Regions from separate parts of the Homo sapiens genome. Here regions 1, 2, 4, 5, 6 and 7 are each linked to region 3. The links are contacts of gene promoters, found by promoter capture Hi-C in blood cells and fetal thymus (Javierre and others, 2016). All regions are on one chromosome and are shown on one strand. Each heading gives the region's core, a stretch centred on a gene start or on the middle of the fragment in contact. The rest is flanking DNA. Distances are from core to core; before and after follow the strand shown. Region 1 overlaps ANK2 (ankyrin 2). Region 2 overlaps ANK2 (ankyrin 2). Region 3 holds the start of ARSJ (arylsulfatase family member J). Region 4 overlaps ANK2 (ankyrin 2). Region 5 overlaps LOC105377374 (a long non-coding RNA gene). Region 6 overlaps ANK2 (ankyrin 2). Region 7 overlaps ANK2 (ankyrin 2).

What was found. The method cuts DNA at HindIII sites, captures the fragments that hold promoters and counts their contacts. A CHiCAGO score of 5 or more calls a contact.
Region 1: a contact is called between a fragment that was not itself captured here and the fragment with the promoter of ARSJ in region 3, in 1 of 17 cell types (M1 macrophages). The highest score is 5.8, in M1 macrophages.
Region 2: a fragment that was not itself captured here is called in contact with the fragment with the promoter of ARSJ in region 3 in 2 of 17 cell types (M2 macrophages and M0 macrophages); the score reaches 5.4 in M2 macrophages.
Region 4: a contact is called between a fragment that was not itself captured here and the fragment with the promoter of ARSJ in region 3, in 1 of 17 cell types (M2 macrophages). The highest score is 5.5, in M2 macrophages.
Region 5: a contact is called between a fragment that was not itself captured here and the fragment with the promoter of ARSJ in region 3, in 4 of 17 cell types (activated CD4 T cells, naive B cells, total B cells and 1 more). The highest score is 7.1, in activated CD4 T cells.
Region 6: a contact is called between a fragment that was not itself captured here and the fragment with the promoter of ARSJ in region 3, in 1 of 17 cell types (M2 macrophages). The highest score is 5.1, in M2 macrophages.
Region 7: a fragment that was not itself captured here is called in contact with the fragment with the promoter of ARSJ in region 3 in 1 of 17 cell types (M2 macrophages); the score reaches 5.7 in M2 macrophages.

The regions. Positions count from the first base shown.
Region 1 is chr4:113,358,127-113,360,826 of GRCh38, forward strand. ANK2 (ankyrin 2) reads left to right here. Exons shown (of 46, transcript NM_001148.6): 38 at 1-1,173; 39 at 2,697-2,700. Among named protein-coding and RNA genes, the nearest start is that of MIR8082, 210 kb to the left of the region's middle. The HindIII fragment of the contact is 214 bases long and covers 1,278-1,491 here.
Region 2 is chr4:113,374,826-113,377,525 of GRCh38, forward strand. All of the region lies in intron 45 of ANK2 (ankyrin 2), which reads left to right. Among named protein-coding and RNA genes, the nearest start is that of MIR8082, 220 kb to the left of the region's middle. The HindIII fragment of the contact is 753 bases long and covers 1,059-1,811 here.
Region 3 is chr4:113,978,393-113,981,092 of GRCh38, forward strand. ARSJ (arylsulfatase family member J) reads right to left here and starts at 1,255. Exons shown (of 2, transcript NM_024590.4): 1 at 45-1,255. The coding sequence starts at 442. It overlaps LOC107986305 (a long non-coding RNA gene), which reads left to right and starts at 1,421. Exons shown (of 2, transcript XR_001741794.2): 1 at 1,421-1,594; 2 at 1,978-2,700. It overlaps LOC124900762 (a long non-coding RNA gene), which reads right to left. Exons shown (of 3, transcript XR_007058237.1): 3 at 2,503-2,572. The HindIII fragment of the contact is 10,512 bases long and covers 1-2,700 here.
Region 4 is chr4:113,297,498-113,300,197 of GRCh38, forward strand. All of the region lies in intron 22 of ANK2 (ankyrin 2), which reads left to right. Among named protein-coding and RNA genes, the nearest start is that of MIR8082, 150 kb to the left of the region's middle. The HindIII fragment of the contact is 5,350 bases long and covers 1-2,700 here.
Region 5 is chr4:113,411,490-113,414,189 of GRCh38, forward strand. The region is part of intron 2 of LOC105377374 (a long non-coding RNA gene); the gene reads right to left. Among named protein-coding and RNA genes, the nearest start is that of MIR8082, 260 kb to the left of the region's middle. The HindIII fragment of the contact is 3,805 bases long and covers 1-2,700 here.
Region 6 is chr4:113,340,952-113,343,651 of GRCh38, forward strand. ANK2 (ankyrin 2) reads left to right here. Exons shown (of 46, transcript NM_001148.6): 33 at 737-965; 34 at 2,066-2,191. Among named protein-coding and RNA genes, the nearest start is that of MIR8082, 190 kb to the left of the region's middle. The HindIII fragment of the contact is 2,437 bases long and covers 35-2,471 here.
Region 7 is chr4:113,269,369-113,272,068 of GRCh38, forward strand. The region is part of intron 14 of ANK2 (ankyrin 2); the gene reads left to right. Among named protein-coding and RNA genes, the nearest start is that of MIR8082, 120 kb to the left of the region's middle. The HindIII fragment of the contact is 1,239 bases long and covers 650-1,888 here.

The sequences.
Region 1 (2,700 bases), core at 135-2,634, 620 kb before region 3:
AATCAAAAGAAACAGTGGATGATGAGGCAGACTTACTTCCAGATGACGTGAGTGAGGAAGTAGAGGAAATACCTGCTTCGGATGCTCAACTTAACTCCCAAATGGGGATTTCAGCCTCCACTGAAACACCTACAAAAGAAGCTGTTAGTGTAGGGACCAAGGACCTCCCCACCGTGCAAACGGGTGATATACCTCCTCTCTCTGGTGTAAAGCAGATATCCTGCCCCGACTCTTCTGAACCAGCTGTACAAGTCCAGTTAGATTTTTCCACACTCACCAGGTCTGTTTATTCAGATAGGGGTGATGATTCTCCCGATTCTTCCCCAGAAGAACAGAAATCAGTAATCGAGATTCCTACTGCACCCATGGAGAATGTGCCTTTTACTGAAAGCAAATCCAAAATTCCTGTAAGGACTATGCCCACTTCCACCCCAGCACCTCCATCTGCAGAGTATGAGAGTTCAGTTTCTGAAGATTTTCTATCCAGTGTAGATGAGGAAAATAAGGCGGATGAAGCAAAACCAAAGTCCAAACTCCCTGTCAAAGTACCCCTCCAAAGAGTTGAACAGCAGCTCTCAGATCTAGACACCTCTGTCCAGAAGACAGTGGCTCCTCAGGGACAGGACATGGCAAGCATCGCACCAGATAATAGAAGCAAATCTGAATCTGATGCTAGTTCTTTGGATTCAAAGACCAAATGCCCAGTAAAAACCCGAAGTTACACTGAGACAGAAACAGAGAGCAGAGAGAGGGCCGAGGAACTTGAGTTAGAATCAGAAGAAGGGGCCACAAGACCAAAGATACTTACATCCCGATTGCCAGTTAAGAGCAGAAGCACTACATCTTCCTGCAGGGGGGGCACGAGCCCCACAAAAGAAAGTAAGGAGCATTTCTTTGACCTTTACAGAAATTCCATAGAATTCTTTGAGGAGATTAGTGATGAGGCTTCCAAATTAGTGGATAGGCTGACACAGTCAGAGAGGGAGCAGGAAATAGTTTCAGACGATGAAAGTAGTAGTGCCCTGGAAGTATCAGTAATTGAAAATCTGCCACCTGTTGAGACCGAGCACTCAGTTCCTGAGGACATCTTTGACACAAGGCCCATTTGGGATGAGTCTATTGAGACTCTGATTGAACGCATCCCTGATGAAAATGGCCATGACCATGCTGAAGGTATTTGCCAGCCACCGGGATTCCCTGTGCTACGCATGTCATAAAATTGATATAGTTTTTTTGTATGTTTGTTTTATTTGATGATTTGTGTCTCATTTTCTTTAAGCTTTCTGTAGTGGCTAATGTGTTTGTGTAAGCCCTTTGTGTTTTGTGCTTTCTCTGTATACTCTTGTCTAAGAAAACAATCTCAAGATTGAGTAATGAGAATGCTTATGGAAAACATAAACATAATAACCGGGCAACAGTGATCTTGCCTTTTTTAGCCTCTGCACGTAATAAGGCCATGCGAGCTTTGAGTTTTGTTGTTCTGAAGTCCCAAGCTTAGACTCAAATTAAGCACTTTTGCACATAAATATATTGTATTTTGTTTCATAGTATGAAGACATTGCTTTTCTTCTTATCTTCGCATACTTTAAAATAATTTGTACTTACAATTTTGTAATCATTAGGAAGCCATTTGCTTGAGAAGATTTCACATAACATGAAATTCTAATTGTTGTGGATCTGTTTTTGATTCAGAAAGGTTGGATTTCAGATACCATTGGTAAATACTTTAAGCAAACAAACCTAAGGTAAAAATATGCTTTTCATTTATGTGGTAGATGAATGGAGAATGTACTCTCATTAGATGCAGCAGACAACAAAAACTCAAACTTTGCACAGTTTAAGTTGACTGTGAGGGGATGATGGCTCTTTGACTTATAAAAAAGGAAACCATAGATGGCTTTGAAAAGTAGCCTGTGTTCTTCCAATATCTCTACAATGAAGACTGTCATTCTTAAATTGAGGTTATACAAACTTTCCTATACCATGGTCTAAAATGCTGCCTATCAATCAGTGGGAGTTAAACATGAATGGGAAAATTATAGTTTATAGGAGTGAGTAGTATATAAGCTTAATAGCAAGAAGGCAGAAACTTTGCCCAAAAGACATATATGCATACAGATACAATATACACATAAAAATGCATATGCTTTTATCCTCGTTTCTCCAAGGTCACCAGGACCAAATGTTGTTTCTGGCCACACTAATCAGGATGGCCTGATCAGCTCATGATCAACATCTCTTGTGAATCTCTGATGTGATTCCTTTCAGACATGACCTGGAAATGATCTATCCCTCCACAAGCAATAATAGGAGGTCCTAGCCAATTGCTCTACTTCTGCATCCCATTTATGATTTCTCTGGTGTTTCATGAACAAGATGGTGGTCTTCTTGGTGGGCAGTATTCTCTCCAATAATTTAAAAGTCATAAGATTACTAGAAATCAGCAACTTATATAATTATGTCTAGAACTAGTCTTGATTAAAGAGATATGGAAGCAGATGGTTTTCATGATTCATATTAGATCTATTCCCCATTCCACCCCAGAAATCAGACACACAATATGATCTGAAATGTAGTATCTAGTTTGTGCTTTCAAATATTTGGAGAAGTGACTTCCTTTCTTTGAATGAATCAGTACTGTGGTTCCTCTCCTGTCATAGACAACCTTTGGCCATTCTGTTTTTGACCTTCTCCAGATCC
Region 2 (2,700 bases), core at 185-2,684, 600 kb before region 3:
AGGCCGTAGAGTCAGCAAAGTTGTTAAAACAACTGTGGTACTTGGAGAGAGGATGGAGAAACATCTGGGGGATTCTAGTTTAGCCACTGATCTTCCTTCAGCCAAAGATGACTTTGAAGAGGTATAGAAGCATCATCATTTGTCTTTTTATGTGTGTGTTTTATGTTGCTTTGCATTTGAAAAGAAAATCGTTTGTCATTGTATCATTCTATACATGAATTCATGGAAAGGTGCAGAATAATTCAAGAGGGTAGAACTCCTGTTTGAATAACTTGCAGAGTAACGTTTCCTTAAACTGTGGTGTTCATTGGTGTCACCTTAACAGCTTTTAAAAATCCAGGTAACTAGGATTTGCTTCTGCTGAATCAGACTCAGAATCTCTGGAGCTGGTATATGATTATACATCTTGTTTAAAAGTCACAGAAGTGTCTTGCTTTGTCAATTAATAAGGGAAAGAAATAAAGACATTGCAAATTATATTTGCTAGCCAGTCTTTTCAAATATAATCTGTGATAGACATTAAAGAAAATTCAGATATATTCCATGTCCATAAATTTTAAAAGCATTTACAATTACTTAAGTTCTGGTTTCCAACAATTAGAAAATGGGTCCACGGTTGGCCAGGCACAGTGGCTCACACCTGTAATCCCAGCACTTTGGGAGGCCGAGGCAGGCGGATCACAAGGTCAGGAGATCGAGACCATCCTGGCTAACACGGTGAAACCCTGTCTCTACTAAAAATACAAAAAATTAGCCAGGCGTGGTGGCGGGTGCCTGTAGTCCCAGCTACTCGGGAGGCTGAGGCAGGAGAATGGTGTGAACCTGGGAGGCGGAGCTTGCAGTGAGCCGAGATTGCACCACTGCCCTCCAGCCTGGGCAACAGAGCGAGAATTCGTCTCAAAAAAAAAAAAGAAAAAAAAGAAAAAGAAAATGGGTCCACAGTAACAGATCCACAAACTCTTACTAAAATCCCCAAATGCTGAAAACCAAAACAAATTTTGTAAGTTAATTTGGAAGTGAAACTTGAAATAAATTGGCATGGAGCTATTATGACATGAAGCTTTTTTATTCTACCTAGAGTGAATGTTTTAGTGACATAAAAATGGGTTTGATTACAGGATGCCATCTTCGCTCTGGAGTATTAGTATTATATAGTACAGTCATGCATTGCTTAACCCACTTATGCCAGAGGTTGCCATTTTTAAAATTTTTGCATGAGTGAAAAATCAGACCTTGGTGATGACCTTGAGCAGTAGGATATAAATAACTTCCACATGCCTAGTGTTCACTAGGCATAAGTGGGTTTTAATGACAGGGATATGTGCTGGGAAATGCATCATTAGACAACTTTGTCATTGTGTGAACATTGTAGAATGTCCTTACACAAACCTAGGTGGTATAGCCTACTATACTTCTAGGTTATATGGTATAACCTATTGCTCCTGGCTACAAACCTGCACAGCATGTTACTGTGCTGAATACTGTAGGCAATTATAACACAATGGTAAGTATTTCCCTATCTAAAAATAGAAAAGGTACAGTAGATAAACAAAATAAAAGATTAAAAATGTTCTACCTGTATAGCATACTTACCATGTAGCTTGCAGGACTGGAGGTTGCTCTGGGAGAGTCAGTGAGTGAGTGGTGAGAGAATGTGAAAGCCTAGGACGTTATTATACACTACAGTAGACTTTATAAACACTGTACACTTAGGCTATGTTACATTTGTTTAAATTTTCCTTTAATTTTTTTAAATCTTCCTTCTGCAATAATAAATTAACTTTAGCTTACTGTAACTCTTTGACTTTATAAGCTTTTACATTTATTTTAACTTTTGACTCTTTTGTAATAACACAAGTTAAGATGCAAACACATTGCACAGGTGCATTAAAAATTGTTTTTCTTCATATCCTTGTTCTATAAACTTTTTTCTGCTTTTAATTTTTTAAATTTATTATTTGTTTTTACTTTTTAAGGTTTTTTTTTTTTTTTTTTTGGCTAAAAACAAAGGCCTAAGCATGTACATTAGCCTAGGCCTACACAAGGTCAGAATAATCAATATCACTGTCTTCCTCCTCCACATATTGTCCCACTGGAAGGTATTCAGGAGCAATAACATATGGAGTTGTCATATCCTAAGAAAACAATGCCTTATTCTGCAATACCTCCTGAAGGACCTGCCTGAGGCTCCTTGATAATTAACTGTTTTTTAATAAGTAAAAGAGTACACTCTAAAATAGTGATAAAAAGTATCACTTTTATAATACTTGATAATGATAATAAGTGACTGTTACTGATTTATGTATTTACTATACATAGTAAATGTATTTACCGTACATAAACCAGTAACATAGTCATTTATTATCATTATCAAGTATTATGTACCCTACATAATTGTATGTGCTGTGCTTTTATATGATTGGCACCTTAGTAGGTTTATTTACACCAGCATCGCCACAAACATCTGAGTAATACATTGCACCATGAAGTTAGAACAGCTATAGCATCACTAGGTGACAGGAATTTTTTAGCTCCATTATAATCTTATGGGACCATGTCATATATGCAGTCCATTTTTAACCAAAATGTCATTATGTAGCATGTGACTGTATATGCATTATATTACCTTGCTAAAATCCAAAAGGGACAAAAAAATCTAAATTTTGAAACACATCTGGTCCCAAAGTTTTGACTAAGGGA
Region 3 (2,700 bases), core at 5-2,504:
TAAGATTTCTCCAAGGAATAAATATAAGAAGTAGGAACACTTACTTTCCAGTAATAAACTGACTCCTGGATGGTGTGCAAATAGGCTGGACATAGTAGTTCTCCAGTTTAACTCCTTCGGCAGCGAGCTTGTCAAGAGTAGGTGTTTTAATCTCAGATCCGTGGTAACCCACATCTCTAAATCCCTGATCATCCGCTAGGATGAAAATGAGATGGGGCTGGGAGGTGGAAGTTGTGCTGGGCTCTAGTTTCTCTCCAGCTTGAGCTAGTAAGGCCCCTTCTTCCTCCTCTTCTAAGGCCTGGCCCCAGGACAGGTAACCATAAGTGAGGAGGCAGAGGATCCAGAATCCTGCCAGCGCCCCCATTGCTAGCATCTTTCCAGGACAGACACAGGCCTGTGGAGAAGGCGGAGGCGGATGCCCCGCACAGCCCCTGGGAGCCATTCACTCAGGTCCCAGGTGAGACTCCACGCGGAGAACCACGCGCCCCGCGCCGCTGCGGGCGCACACATGCACCCAACAGACGGTGAAGACTCTCCACCTGGCAAGAAATCCTCCTCTCCTCTCAGCTGTCACCATGTCCGACAACTTTAATCTTCCAGAAGTGATGGCTTAATGGATGGGACTCCGGAAGAACAAGGAGGGCTCGCTCTTCTCCAGCACATTTCACTTTCTCCTCCTCCTCCCCCCTCCCTAGAGCAGCTTCCACCAAGGAAAAAAAAAAGAAAAAAGTTAATATCTCCACCCAAAAGTTCTCTGGAGAAAAAAACCAAGCAAGGAATTGAGAATCACAGTGGACAGGAACTTTTCGTGGCCAGAGCGCCCTCGACGTTGGGGAGCGAGGCTGACTCTCCTGGGAGTGCTGGTACGGAGGGCGGCGGGATCGGCCGTCTGTCCTGCGGTCCCCACACCTGGAAAGAACTGCGAAGTGGACGCGTCGCGTCTGGCTCTGATCAGACAGATAAACTGCCGTAGTGGACCGGCCTCCTGATCACCTTCTCCACTTTCCCAGGGCTATTTTCCCCAGTCCTTTCCTAGGCGTTTGCCAATCTCCCCGACACTCACCAGGCGGCGAAGTGAGGAAGAAGCCGTTTCCTGATCTCCCTCCACCTCCGCAGAAACTCCGGGCAGCAATTCCTTTTCCCCGCTGCTAGGGAGCCTGAAGGCCAAAGCCGGGTCCCTAGCCCCGCGGCCGGTCCGCGCGGAGCCCGCTTGGTCTTTGCGTAGTTGGCGCACCCGGCGCAGGCGCTGCAAACTGCGTGCGTTTTCTCAGCTAACTTATTTAGCTTTGGCACTCCGAGTTCTTTTGCCTCCTCCCTCTTTTCTCTCCAGTGAATCACAGAACGGTACTTTCTTCCTGAGCTCCCCCGGGAAGAGGGGGTGGGGGAAAAGGACTGTTTAGAGGCTCGATCTTTCCTTTTTCTTTTCCGGGAGGTGGATGGCCAAGGCAGAGGAGGCTTTGCCAGAGAGAGAGCTGCGTGCTGCTCCAGCCCAGCGGGATTCCGGGGGATCCGCCTGGGCTACCGCGTCCCAAGAGTGTCGCCTCCTGCCCATCACCCCGCTAGAGGGAAAGGACGGCGGCGCGAATGGGGAAGGGTAAAGCGGGCACTTCTTTTCGTGGGGCTGTTGGTGAAGAGCCCCGTCTCCCATCCCTAAAGTTGCGCTTGCAAACTTTTTCTAGCTTCTGGAGGGAGTGAGAGAGAAGGAGCAGGAATAAAAACAAAATGCGTATGACACTCTTTCCTCTTTCCAACTTCCTTTGCAGGTTTTCCTTTACTAGTCCCCCCACCCCCATCATTTTCCTATTCCTTTTGTCCCTACCTTTTTTTTTTTTTTTTTCAGTAACGATGACAAATTTTTAAGTTTTATTTCCTCTCCCAATAGCTGGCTTTTACAGCCTGATTCTTCGTTACCCTTTCCCTATGTGAAAATACTGGAATTGCCCGCTCCCTCTTACCTCTCCCCTAACTTACCCACAGGGTGTCTCCAGCCAAAAGCCTGGAGAGGAAGAGTTATGCATTTCTCCTTCAAGAACCCCGAAGCCAGTCTGCATTCCTGCATTAAAGAAGCCAGTGTTTCCCATCCAGTAATTCAGGGAGCTTCATCATTTTTTTTCCTTCTTTCTTTTTTACCATGTGGAGGAAAACCATTGTAAAAACTTATCTTGGTTGTGAAAATACTCTTGATTTTACTAGAGTCATAGAGTTTTAAAGTCCTGCTCAAAGGCAGCAGAGGGATGTATAGTATAGTCTCTATAGAAGAGGCAATGAATGCCAAGAGCCACTGAGATATTTTTTTCTACCACCAAATTTATTCAACAGTTACTTACTGAATACCTACTGTGGGCTGGCACATAACATGTCAGATTCTCTCAATTGACTGAAACATAAATCTAGGTTTCATTTAGCCATTTATTTCTAATTCTCTCCTGTTGCTAAAGTTCCTGCTGAGTTCCCAGGCAAAACTTTGTGAAATGGGAACTTTGAAAGGCACGATGGTGCTCCATGAAGTTAACCTTGCTAGCTGCTGTAGGCCTTCTGGTCTCTGTTCTTCCTTGCAGCCCTTCTGGCTAAGCTGGGGAGAGATAGTCAGTTTTAGAAGCCATGTTCAGAAATGTGAGTTTAGCAATTCTGTAAATTAAGTCACCAAATATGTAATGAGAGTACTGAGTGTCAGGGGATTGAAAAGCATTGAGAGGTAGG
Region 4 (2,700 bases), core at 11-2,510, 680 kb before region 3:
TTTATATCAAAATATCACTTGTACCCCGTAAGTATGTACAACTGTGTATCCACAACAATTTAAAAATTTTAAAAATAGGAGCCATAAAAATGGCAATACAATAAATACTTGTAAAGTCATTTGACACCTTTTGAGGTAGAGCCAAGATCTTTTCTTTAAATATAGGTCCATCGATTAGAAATTAAATTGCCATTCTTGCACAAACAATATCAATACCTATTATATTATGTATATATATGCTATAATATGTATATTTATATGATATTTGTATGTTCTGTGTACTTTCCTTTTCTTTCTTTTTTTTTGAGACAGGATCTCACGCTGTTGCCCAGGCTGAAGTGTAGTGGTACTATCACGGTTCACTGCAGCTCAGGTGATCCTCCCATCTTAGCTTCCAGAGTAACAGGGACTACTCGGGAGTAGTAGGTGGGCAGGTGCCACCACTCCTGGCTAATTTTTGTATTGTTTTGTAGAGACGGGGTTTTGCCACGTTGTCCAGGCTCGTCTCAAACGATCCACCTGCCTTGGCCTCCCAAAATGCTAGGATTACAGTCCTGAGCCCCTGCTGTGTATTTTCTTAAAAAGACATACTTAGTGCAGAATCTTTTTAGACTTTTGACATGTTTTTTCAACCTGTTATAATTGTCTCAATTACATCTAATTGGGTATTACTTTCAGTGACTCACCTTTGTTAGGACTTCAAAAAACATCTACCCTAGTTTTTCTAGAAAAAAAACAGTATTTACATAATATTTAATTTAGTTATTAAAGTTATATTAATATGTATGATTGGTATAAGTATGTTTAGAAACAAAAACAAGTTTAGCTTGAACTCCACTGATGGAAGCTATGGATGAGGGCCTTAAAAGGTGGCATCATAACCAAGATCACTAAGTATGCTGTGGTGGCTTAGGGATTATGTGATATAAATGCAATTGGTGACCAGGAGGATTGGCTGAGTGAGGGTTGGCTAAGTGAAGATCAGTTAAACACACAGTTTCTTTTGCATAGAACAAATCAGATATTGACTACTATTTGTAAAGCAGAATGTTAAGAACTCCTACTTTATTTTCTACATTTTTCATATCGTGATTAACAATATAAATTCATTATTAAATCTCTCTTCCATCTATTATATACCATTTCTTTTGCCATATTATCCGATTTAATTATATCCCATTAAACTTGTACTTAGTGTCCTACTCATTTTAACTTTTAAAGTAGTTTCTAATCTTGACCATAGTATCTTGGATTCTGTAGCAGAAAGAGATGTCCATGATCATTTCACTATAGCCTTGTTCTCTATGTACGATTCAGAGGTAGTTGCATAAAACCATGTTTATGTTTAAATAATCAAGTTTTCAAAGGACATTTTGTTTAAAAGGAAAATATGTATTCATTTCTTGTTACATTATACATATGTAGGACTACTTATTTTCCATCCATTCAACAAATATTTAATGATGGCCTTCTAAAGGTCAAATACCTTCTCATGTATAAATGATATTATATTTACCACATTGCATATAGAGGCCATTTTTAATATCTATACAGAAAAATATCCATGACCAATATGATCACAGTGTATTACTTTTTCTGTTGCCACATATATTTGCTGATAATTCTGATAGCATTCAGTGACCAAACTGAAGTAAATTATTGTTTCCACTCTTACAAGTACAAAGAAAATATAGTCCCATTATCAGCACCTGAAAATAGAAACTGAGACTATCAGGCAATGAAACTTAATCATTTAAAAAGTATCTCCAGTAATTATTTTCAAACAGAGAATCATCTCCTTATTGAAATGTTTACTACGAAGGACAAATACTCTAAAACATTTCTGCAAAAATTAACTTTCTAATACAGTCTAATATAGTAGACATCCTTTCACATTTTTAAATATTCCCAAAAAGTTGAATAAAGGTCAGCCGCGGTAGCTCACATCTGTAATACCAGCACTTTGGGAGGCCGAGGTAGGTGGATCACCTGACGTCAAGTGTTCGAGACCAGCCAGGCCAACATGGTGAAGCCCCATCTCTACTACAAATACACAAATGAGCCAGGCGTGCTGGTGCACACCTGTAATCCCAGCTATTTGGGAGGCTGAGGCAGGAGAATGGCTTGAACCTGGAAGGCGGAGGTTGCAGTGAGCTGAGATCGTGCCATTGCACTCCAGCCTGGGCAACAAGAGTGAAACGACATCTCAAAAAAAAAAAAAAAAAAGTTGAATAAGATTTCATAGTAGGGTAGTCTCTATGTTATATTTTAAATGCAAATCATTTTCCTGCAATTTATATACTTTCCCTAATACAGGAAAATGAATCTCAAATTGAGCTGTGCAATAAACCCACCTAAGGAACCTTTAAAAAATACCCTGGTCCCCATTATAGCTGGGCCCGATCCCTATGGATTTTGATTTAATTGGTCTATGATGGGACCCAAGCAACAATATTTTTTAAATGTTTCTAATAATTGTAATATGTAGCTATAGTTGAATACCACTAATACAGAATATGGGCTATAATTTATTGGTGTTAAATTTCTAAATTAAAATTTATAATATTAAAATAATAATCAAATTGTATATTATAATAGTCTTTTTGAGTTTGTTCATTCAACAAATATTTATCAACCACTACTATTCTCCAGATTTTTGGATGGATACTTTTGTTTTTCCTGCAGCATTTAGTTTGCTTT
Region 5 (2,700 bases), core at 92-2,591, 570 kb before region 3:
AAAAATCTCTTTCCAACCAATTCTTCTAGAACAAATCTAGTGAAGCAGATGCAACGCAAGGTGGAGACACTGGGAACTGGCTGGGCTGCCGGGTGAATTCCAGTACAGACCCAACACCACCACAGAAACTAGGAATTTCCCTAGAAGCATTTAGGAGAACTAGCTCTACTTTTCCAGGAGCTTAGTTTATTGATTCATCGCCTACTTTAGGTCAGGCAGTTTGCCAAGAGCTGTGGATACACAGATGATTGTGACATAGTTCCTACTCCTCAAGGAGAAATTAGAATGAGATTCAGACAAGTGAACTGTCAATGATGCAATTCTAGATAAGGGCTGTCATGGGATAAGGGGAACGTGGGGTGCTATGCTTCCCCAAAGGGAGTCAGAGGAAGTGTCTGCTGGAGGCATCAAAATTAGGGCTCTGTCTATGCTGGAACCTTAGCCCTAGTGGGGGCTTGTATTTCTCAGTTTTCCTTGCCTGCTAGGTGAAAATTTATTTAGCTAGGGCACAGTGCTTCTGGCCCTAATGAGGTACTTCTCTTTGTGGGCAATATTTTTGTGATTGATAAAATAAATGCATCTTCCTCAACTGACAGCAGGAAAATGTGAAGAGAGGTGACAGGGTGATGGGCCACAGAGAGGGAGAAATGAGTACATCTCTGTACGTACAAATGCTTTTTCATCTATATGTTGTTATCCATACAAAAATAGCAATCCACAAGACCCGTTGTAATAAAGGAATTACAGGGCATCAAAGAAAAGAGGGAGTTTTCCAGGCTTGTTTAAACATTGATGCTCATCTCTACCATTCAGGAAGAAAATCCATCAGGCTTTTCTTCTGTTTCTCAGTGGCTAATGGACTATATGAAACTCAATTTCTGTACAGCAAGTTGGCCATAAGATGTACTTAGCAGACAATTAACATCAGCAGCCAACAACTAGAGTTGGTTAAATATCTACCGGCCTGGGGCAATCCTCATGAGTGATATAAGTAATCTTAAAAGAAATCAGTTCCCACCTTCTTGGTTTATGTTTCTTAAAATGGGATCCAAGGATCAGCTGTATCAGAACCAAAGAGGGTACTTGTTACAAATACAGGTTCTAAGATCCCTCTTCCAGATCTTGATTCAGAATCTCTTTAGGTAGTAAACCCATACAAGAATTTTTTTTTTCCATCTCACTCTGTTGTCCAGGCTGGAGTGCAGTGGCCCAATCTCAGCTCACTGCAACCTTCGCTTCCTGGGTTCAAGTGATTCTCCTGTATCAGCCTCCTGAGTAGCTGGGATTACAGGCATGCGCCAACATGCTCAGCTAATTTTTGTATTTTTAGTAGAGATGGGGTTTTGACATTTTGGCCAGGCTGGTCTTGAACCTCTGACCTCAGGTGATCCACCCACCTCGGCCTCTCAAAGTCCTAGGATTACAGGTGTGAGCCACTGTTCCCGGACCTATATACGGATTTTTAAAAATAAATTTCTCAATGATTTTTATGCATGCCACAGTTTGGGGAACACTACTATGGCAGTTTACAATCTTAGAATGCAATCTGGAACAGGCACACATATAAAGCAAGAATGTACAGAGGGAAATATGAAAAACACATTTAATCCATGGTAATAAACGTAGATTGAAAGAGAAGAAATAATACTCATGACACTGCAGTCCCAGAAACCATTAAAACACAATTAGATTTTTCTTGCTAAAAAGCACCAACCACAGAGATGCTAATTGCTCACTAGTCCTAGATCCAGGAGCTTTAGATTAATTTTCTAGTGGGCTTACCTGGTTCTTGTACTACGTATATATTGCTAGGGGTAAGTTGAGGGACTATTTCAGAAGCACCAGTGGCACCTTGGCATAAATACACATTTCAGACCAGGGCAAATTTTACTCTACAATAACAGCCAGGTTCTGGGATGAGGAGGCATCCTGTCTCAACCAGGAAGAATTGCACAGATTTTATCAGTAGTTTTACAGGGAATTTTCTCAATTGTCCAGACCCGGGTTAATGGACTTGCAGATTTAGAATCCCACCTCTCCTTGGCCACTATTCATCTCATCACTGATGCTGATGTTTCTCTTCTTCACAGACCCCTCTTCCCTGGGTTTAAGGACTATATATTCCTAGAAGTCCCTGCTAAACAAGTAACTGCAGGTTATAATCCACAGTGGCTAAAGCTAATCTGATGAATGAGATAATTGAAAGACAAAAAAACAGAAGGCTCAAAAGTCTGCATCAAGTTCTTAGATATTCACATTGCACAGAAAAAAAGAGAGAAATGATGGGGAAAGGGTAAAAAAAAGGAGAGGAGAGAGTTAATTATGCAAATATGAAAAGAAAGCAGATGGTGGGACTGGAAGCCTCAGGTGGCAGTGTCATTTTTAAAAGGTCAAACTTGGAAAGGCAGATATTGTAACCAGTGATTCAGAATCACATTGCCTCTTTTCCTTCTTGTTTATGGGTTGAAATGTGTCCCTCCAAACCAGAATAAAATCCTAACCCCCAGAAACTGTGAATGTGATCTTATTTGGAAATAAGGTCTTTGCCAGTGATCAAATTAAGATGAGGTCATTAGGGTGGGCGTTAATCTGACTGGTATCCTTATTAAAAGAGGGAAATTTGGGCACAGAAATAGACATGGATAAAGGAAAGACATGTAAAGACACAGGGAGAAGGCCATCTACAGCCAACGAGTGCCT
Region 6 (2,700 bases), core at 3-2,502, 640 kb before region 3:
AGTTAGCTCTCTTAGGGCCTGTGGTGAGGGATGAAGCTTAAAGAGTGTCATAAGATTTAGTAACGTTACCATAGTGAACAAAAAATTGCCAGTCAATGTCACAGACTTAGTTGAGGCTGGAAATCATAAAGTCATTATAGCCAATAATTTCTTCTATGAATTATATTCAGCAATACTTAGGAGTTCTGGAGCAGGTTTTTTAAAATGGTTGGGTTGATTCCACTTTGGTGATTAGAGTTCCATGGAAAAGAATAACGAGGGGAGGAAAAGCTGGGTAGATTTTGTTGAAAAGAGTTTCAGGAAATGAAATGACAGCTAGGGAGGGGGGATCAAGGAAAATAGAAAACTATGCAGTGAGATCCTTGTCTTATGTCTGCTATTGAGTTCACTCCACTAAAGGATTCCAAAACACTAAATATATAGTTCAGAAAACTGAATATTCAGAAGAGTTTCCAAAAAAGAAAATTAGAAATACAGTATTTAATAGTTGATCTTAAACCTGATATCTTTCTCTCTTCTCTTCACTCCCTTCTGCTTTCCCTTCTTTCCTCCTACCTTTCCTTTTGTTCCTGTCTTGCTATTTCTTTCCTTTGGCCTTCTCTCATTATCTCCCTCTCTCACTTCCTTTTTTCCAAGAAGCATTTGTTGACTACTTTGATCATATTGAAGGAACTGATTTTATTTTTCACATGGTATACTTTGAACTTTAGATAACTGACTTTATTTATTTTAATAGGTTCTGGCTGATAGATTGTCGACAGATCCAGGAATCCGTTACTTTTGCATCACAAGTATACAGAGAAATTATCTGCGTACCTTATATGGCCAAATTTGTAGTGTTTGCCAAATCACATGACCCCATTGAAGCCAGGTTGAGGTGTTTCTGCATGACTGATGATAAAGTGGATAAGACCCTTGAACAACAAGAAAATTTTGCTGAGGTGGCCAGAAGCAGGGATGTGGAGGTACTGTACCAAAAATAATAATAATAATTTATGCCATGTTGTTATACCTGCATTAATAGATTACATTTCAAATATCATTTAATAAATAGAATAATTAAAAAGTGAAAGACAAGTTCGCATTTTGGTCAGTTAGAAGGTCAACATCCAAAATCTGCCATTTTTAGCCATTTTGGACCTATTCAATAGGAATGATCTGTGCATGTGAGAAGGTAAGATGATTCCTTTAAAGATTATTTGAGGAAAAATTATGAGTTATTGATAAACTCAAAGTATGTAAGTGACTGTAGTACTTTAGATGTTTTTAGCTTTCCTTGTTGTCCTTATTTTTTAATAGTAACTAAAACAGTCTGGGAAGTATATCTTTTTGCATAAATGTTGAAGCAGGGTGTCTAGTGCTTTTCTACATTACTTTTTCTTATTTCAGAATTTTCCATCAGTGTAGGTCTTTGGGTGTTGAAGTCCAGTAACCTGACTCATTGTGATGTCAAAAGTTACCCAAGCAGGCCAGGTGTGGTGGTTCACGCCTGTATTCCCAGCACTTTGGGAGGCCGAGGTGGGTGGATCATCTGAGGTCACCAGTTCGAGACCAACCTGGCCAACATGGCAAAACCCTATCTCTACTAAAAATACAAAATTAGCTGGGCGTGGTGGCAGATGCCTGTAATCCCAGCTACTCAGGAGGCAGAGGCAGGAGAATTGCTTGAACCCGGGAGGCGGAGGTTGCAGTGAGCCAAGATCGCACCACTGCACTCCAGCCTGGGCAACAGAGTGAGACTCCGTCTCAAAAAAAAAAAAAAATTACCCAAGCATAAGTTTAAATTTAGGATTTAAATGTATTTTGGGGTTGTGGAATAATGGGATACACTTTTTGGAATGAGAACATTAAATGTCACCATGCATTAAAGATTCCCATTACTAGTAAGAAGAAAGAGTGCTGGACATGCTGTGTCACAGATAGACAGAATGTCAGTTGTCAATTTAAAGATGGTTGTATGTGTATTATAAGAATTTGAAGTTCCAAGTAGTACTACCACTTCTTTGTGTAAACAACAAGTATAATTGCAGCTACTTTATTGTTATTTCTCTCTGTTTTCACTCAGGTGTTAGAAGGAAAACCCATCTACGTTGATTGTTTCGGCAACTTGGTACCATTAACTAAAAGTGGCCAGCATCATATATTCAGTTTTTTTGCCTTCAAAGAAAATAGACTTCCTCTATTTGTCAAGGTAATATATACATGGAATTTTGTGATGCATTTTTTTCAAGATCAAGGCAGAATTTGACTTCCTTTAGTAATAGAAAATTTTCGCTTTTCAGTCATCTTCAGAGTTTTCTTTTTAACCATATTTGTAACGTTTTACAGCCCTGGGAAACAAATCATTTTTATTTTTGAGGTTCAAAGTCAACCTGAATTTTTATAGACTATATTTAAGGATGAGAACAGGACAAATAATAGCCAACTCATTAATTAGGCACAGTGACCGGTATTTTCCAAATTTGAAGGAAAGCTTATTTATCTATTATAACTTTTAAATATTTATGCTTAGATTTAAAAATACACGTGAACTTCACAAGTGTGGAGATCAAAAGAGTTCTAAGTGGCAACTTTTTGTAATAAAATCTCTCAAAAGACCCAGCATCTCACTTAAGCTAGTAAATTATCTGCAATAGAGCTATAGACTTGATATATTTTCATAAATTCATTCAATAAACAGCATGGAGACATTTGTGTGCA
Region 7 (2,700 bases), core at 19-2,518, 710 kb before region 3:
CCAGTTTTGTGCTTGAAACCCAGGGCCCTGGTGATGTAGGCACCCGAGGGAACCTCCTGGTCTGCAGGTTGCAAAGACCATGGGAAATGCGTAGTATCTGGGCCAGAGTGCACCATTCCTCATGGCACGGTCCCTCACGGCTTCCCTTGCCTAGGGGAGGGAGTTCCCTGACCCCTTGTGCTTTCCAGGTGAAGTGAAGCCCCACCCTGCTTTGGCTTGCCCTCCATGGGCTGCACCCACTGTCTAACCAATCCCAGTGAGATGAGCCAGATACCTCAGTTGGAAATGCATAAATCACCTGCCATCTGTGTTGATCTCGCTGGGATCTGCAGATGGGAGCTGTTCCTATTCAGCCATCTTGCCAGCCTCCGGCCACTTCCAAGTCTTTATCAGTAAAATATGAGGGTTGGACTCAGAAACTCAAAACTCCTTTCTAGACTTTCTTAACATTCTTTGATTCAATGAATTTAATAGACATTTTCTTGTAACAGGTTCCACAGATCTTCATGCAGAATCCAGTGATACACGGGTAGCCTTAACATTACTCTTGTTGTCTTGGTTTTCATCTGCCTTTCTGTGCATTGTCCACATAGTGTAATTTATGTTCTTTGGTAATCATCATTGATCTATTATATTCTTATCTATTTAAAGCTTTATTCAACCATGAGCTTCCCCTGCCATAACATTTTTCTGGTTTCCTTTTAAGGTTACCTGGCATTCAGCTATTTGAAAAATATTTTCTATGGTCAACCAGTGCACTCTGACTATCGTATACTTTACTGGAAATTGTGTTGATGTTCCTGTAAATTTTTTGTAATTCGTATTTAATAATGAAAGAGTTTCCCATTTCTGTCTTAAAGTAAAACCCCTTAATGTTTATTATTCAAATTAAAATTTCTACTTTTAATGGAAATTTATTCATTTTCATGTGTCTCTGCCAAATTTTTCTGTATTGATATAACCCATTATTACAACCTTTTATCTTTTTGGATACCCTCTGAAGCCTCTTCCTTAAAAGCACCACTGGCAACAGAGTCTTTCCTTTAAAATATTAATTAATTAGTTAATTTTACACAAAGATTTCATCAATTCTACTTTTTTACTTCTCTTTTGCAACTACATTTAGTATCATTAATACATATATAGCTACCTCTTAATTCCTTATTCCTTCTAATTTAAATATCAAATTTCAGATGTTATCTTTTGTTTATTTTTTTTCTTTTCAGCTCTACCTCCCATTCTAAGCTACAACTGAAATCCCTTCCCTATAGCATTTTCTATTGTGAACAAACAAAAATACTGTAGCCTTGTGAAGCAGTGCTCCCTAAAGGTCAATATGCATACAAATTACCTGGGCACCCTGCTAGAATGCATATTGTAAGTCAGTTCTGCATATTTAACAAACTCTCAGGTGATGTCAGGGCTGCTGATTTTGGGATTATGTTTCAAGCAGCAAGAAGTTAGGGTTTTCCTATTCATAAGTCCTATTTTAAAGCGTACTTTCACCATGTGTGTTTTATTGTCATTTAATCCTTTTAATGTGTTCCTGGGCCTCTGATTTAGTTAACATTTGAACAGTGCTTTAGAATTCATCAAGCATTTAAACACAAAGTGTCTTATTTGATACCCAGAGGATTCCTGTGTTGTAGGGTGGCTTAGCGTCCTGAAATTCAAGATTGTGCTGATTAACCTGTGGTGACAGAGTTAAGATAAGAAAAAGATTTCTCCTCTGATTCCGCATCTTTCTCCTAACTCTTTCTGCTAACGTCATTATCTCCCACTTCAAATGTAAAGAGAGCCCCTCTTCCTCCCATCCGAACAAACCACTGGTTTCTAATTAGTCACATTCTTTCCCTGAGCTTATGACTATGATCAGGATAAAAGATCAAGCTTGGGCTCATGCGCATTCATGCGGCCCATTTATGAGGTGGGATAAGAAGACCAGCAGCCCTTCTAGAACCACATGGAATATGGGATGTCCGTTTCCCCCAAATGAGGGATGGCTGTCCCAGAAGAAGGGTGCAGGGGGTATTGGGCAGAAAAATGAGCACATATCTGCTATTTTACCTCTTGATTTCTCACCGCACGCATGCGTGCACATGCACGCACAGACACACACACACACACACACACACTTTTGGAAACTTCCTCTCTAAACCTAATAACATTGCTCGAGAATTCACCCTCTCCCGAAGAAGAGATAGTAAAAAATTGTGCCAAGCTACTACATTGAGCTCCAAGGTTGAGATTGCTGCGTAGTTCACAATCTTCTCAATCAGGTTTAGAAATAATATCTCATGGGTCTAAGTCATATGTTTTGCCTATTCACAATATATAACAAAAGAAAAACCATATACTCATAATAACATCTGTAATTTTTAAAGTTCACGCAGAACACTCTATTCACCAGTCCAGAGCATAAGACACATTTTGCTGGACAGACTGGAGAGCAGGGGACCACAGTGGCCTCAGTTCCTCTGTCAGCCAATGTGTTTGCACCCAGGTCCTGCTCGCAGGAAGGTCCTTCCTTGTCCAGTGTCCTCAGTGGACATTACTGAGAAGGCCACCAGAGCCTGACCATCTGGGAGCTCTCTTGCTTTAGGAGCTGGTTCTGTTGGCACAATTACAGGGCTTGGCATTTGCTTTAGGGATCGAGCAATCCCAGGGGTCCTAGGCTTAAACTCACTTGAAACTTAGCTC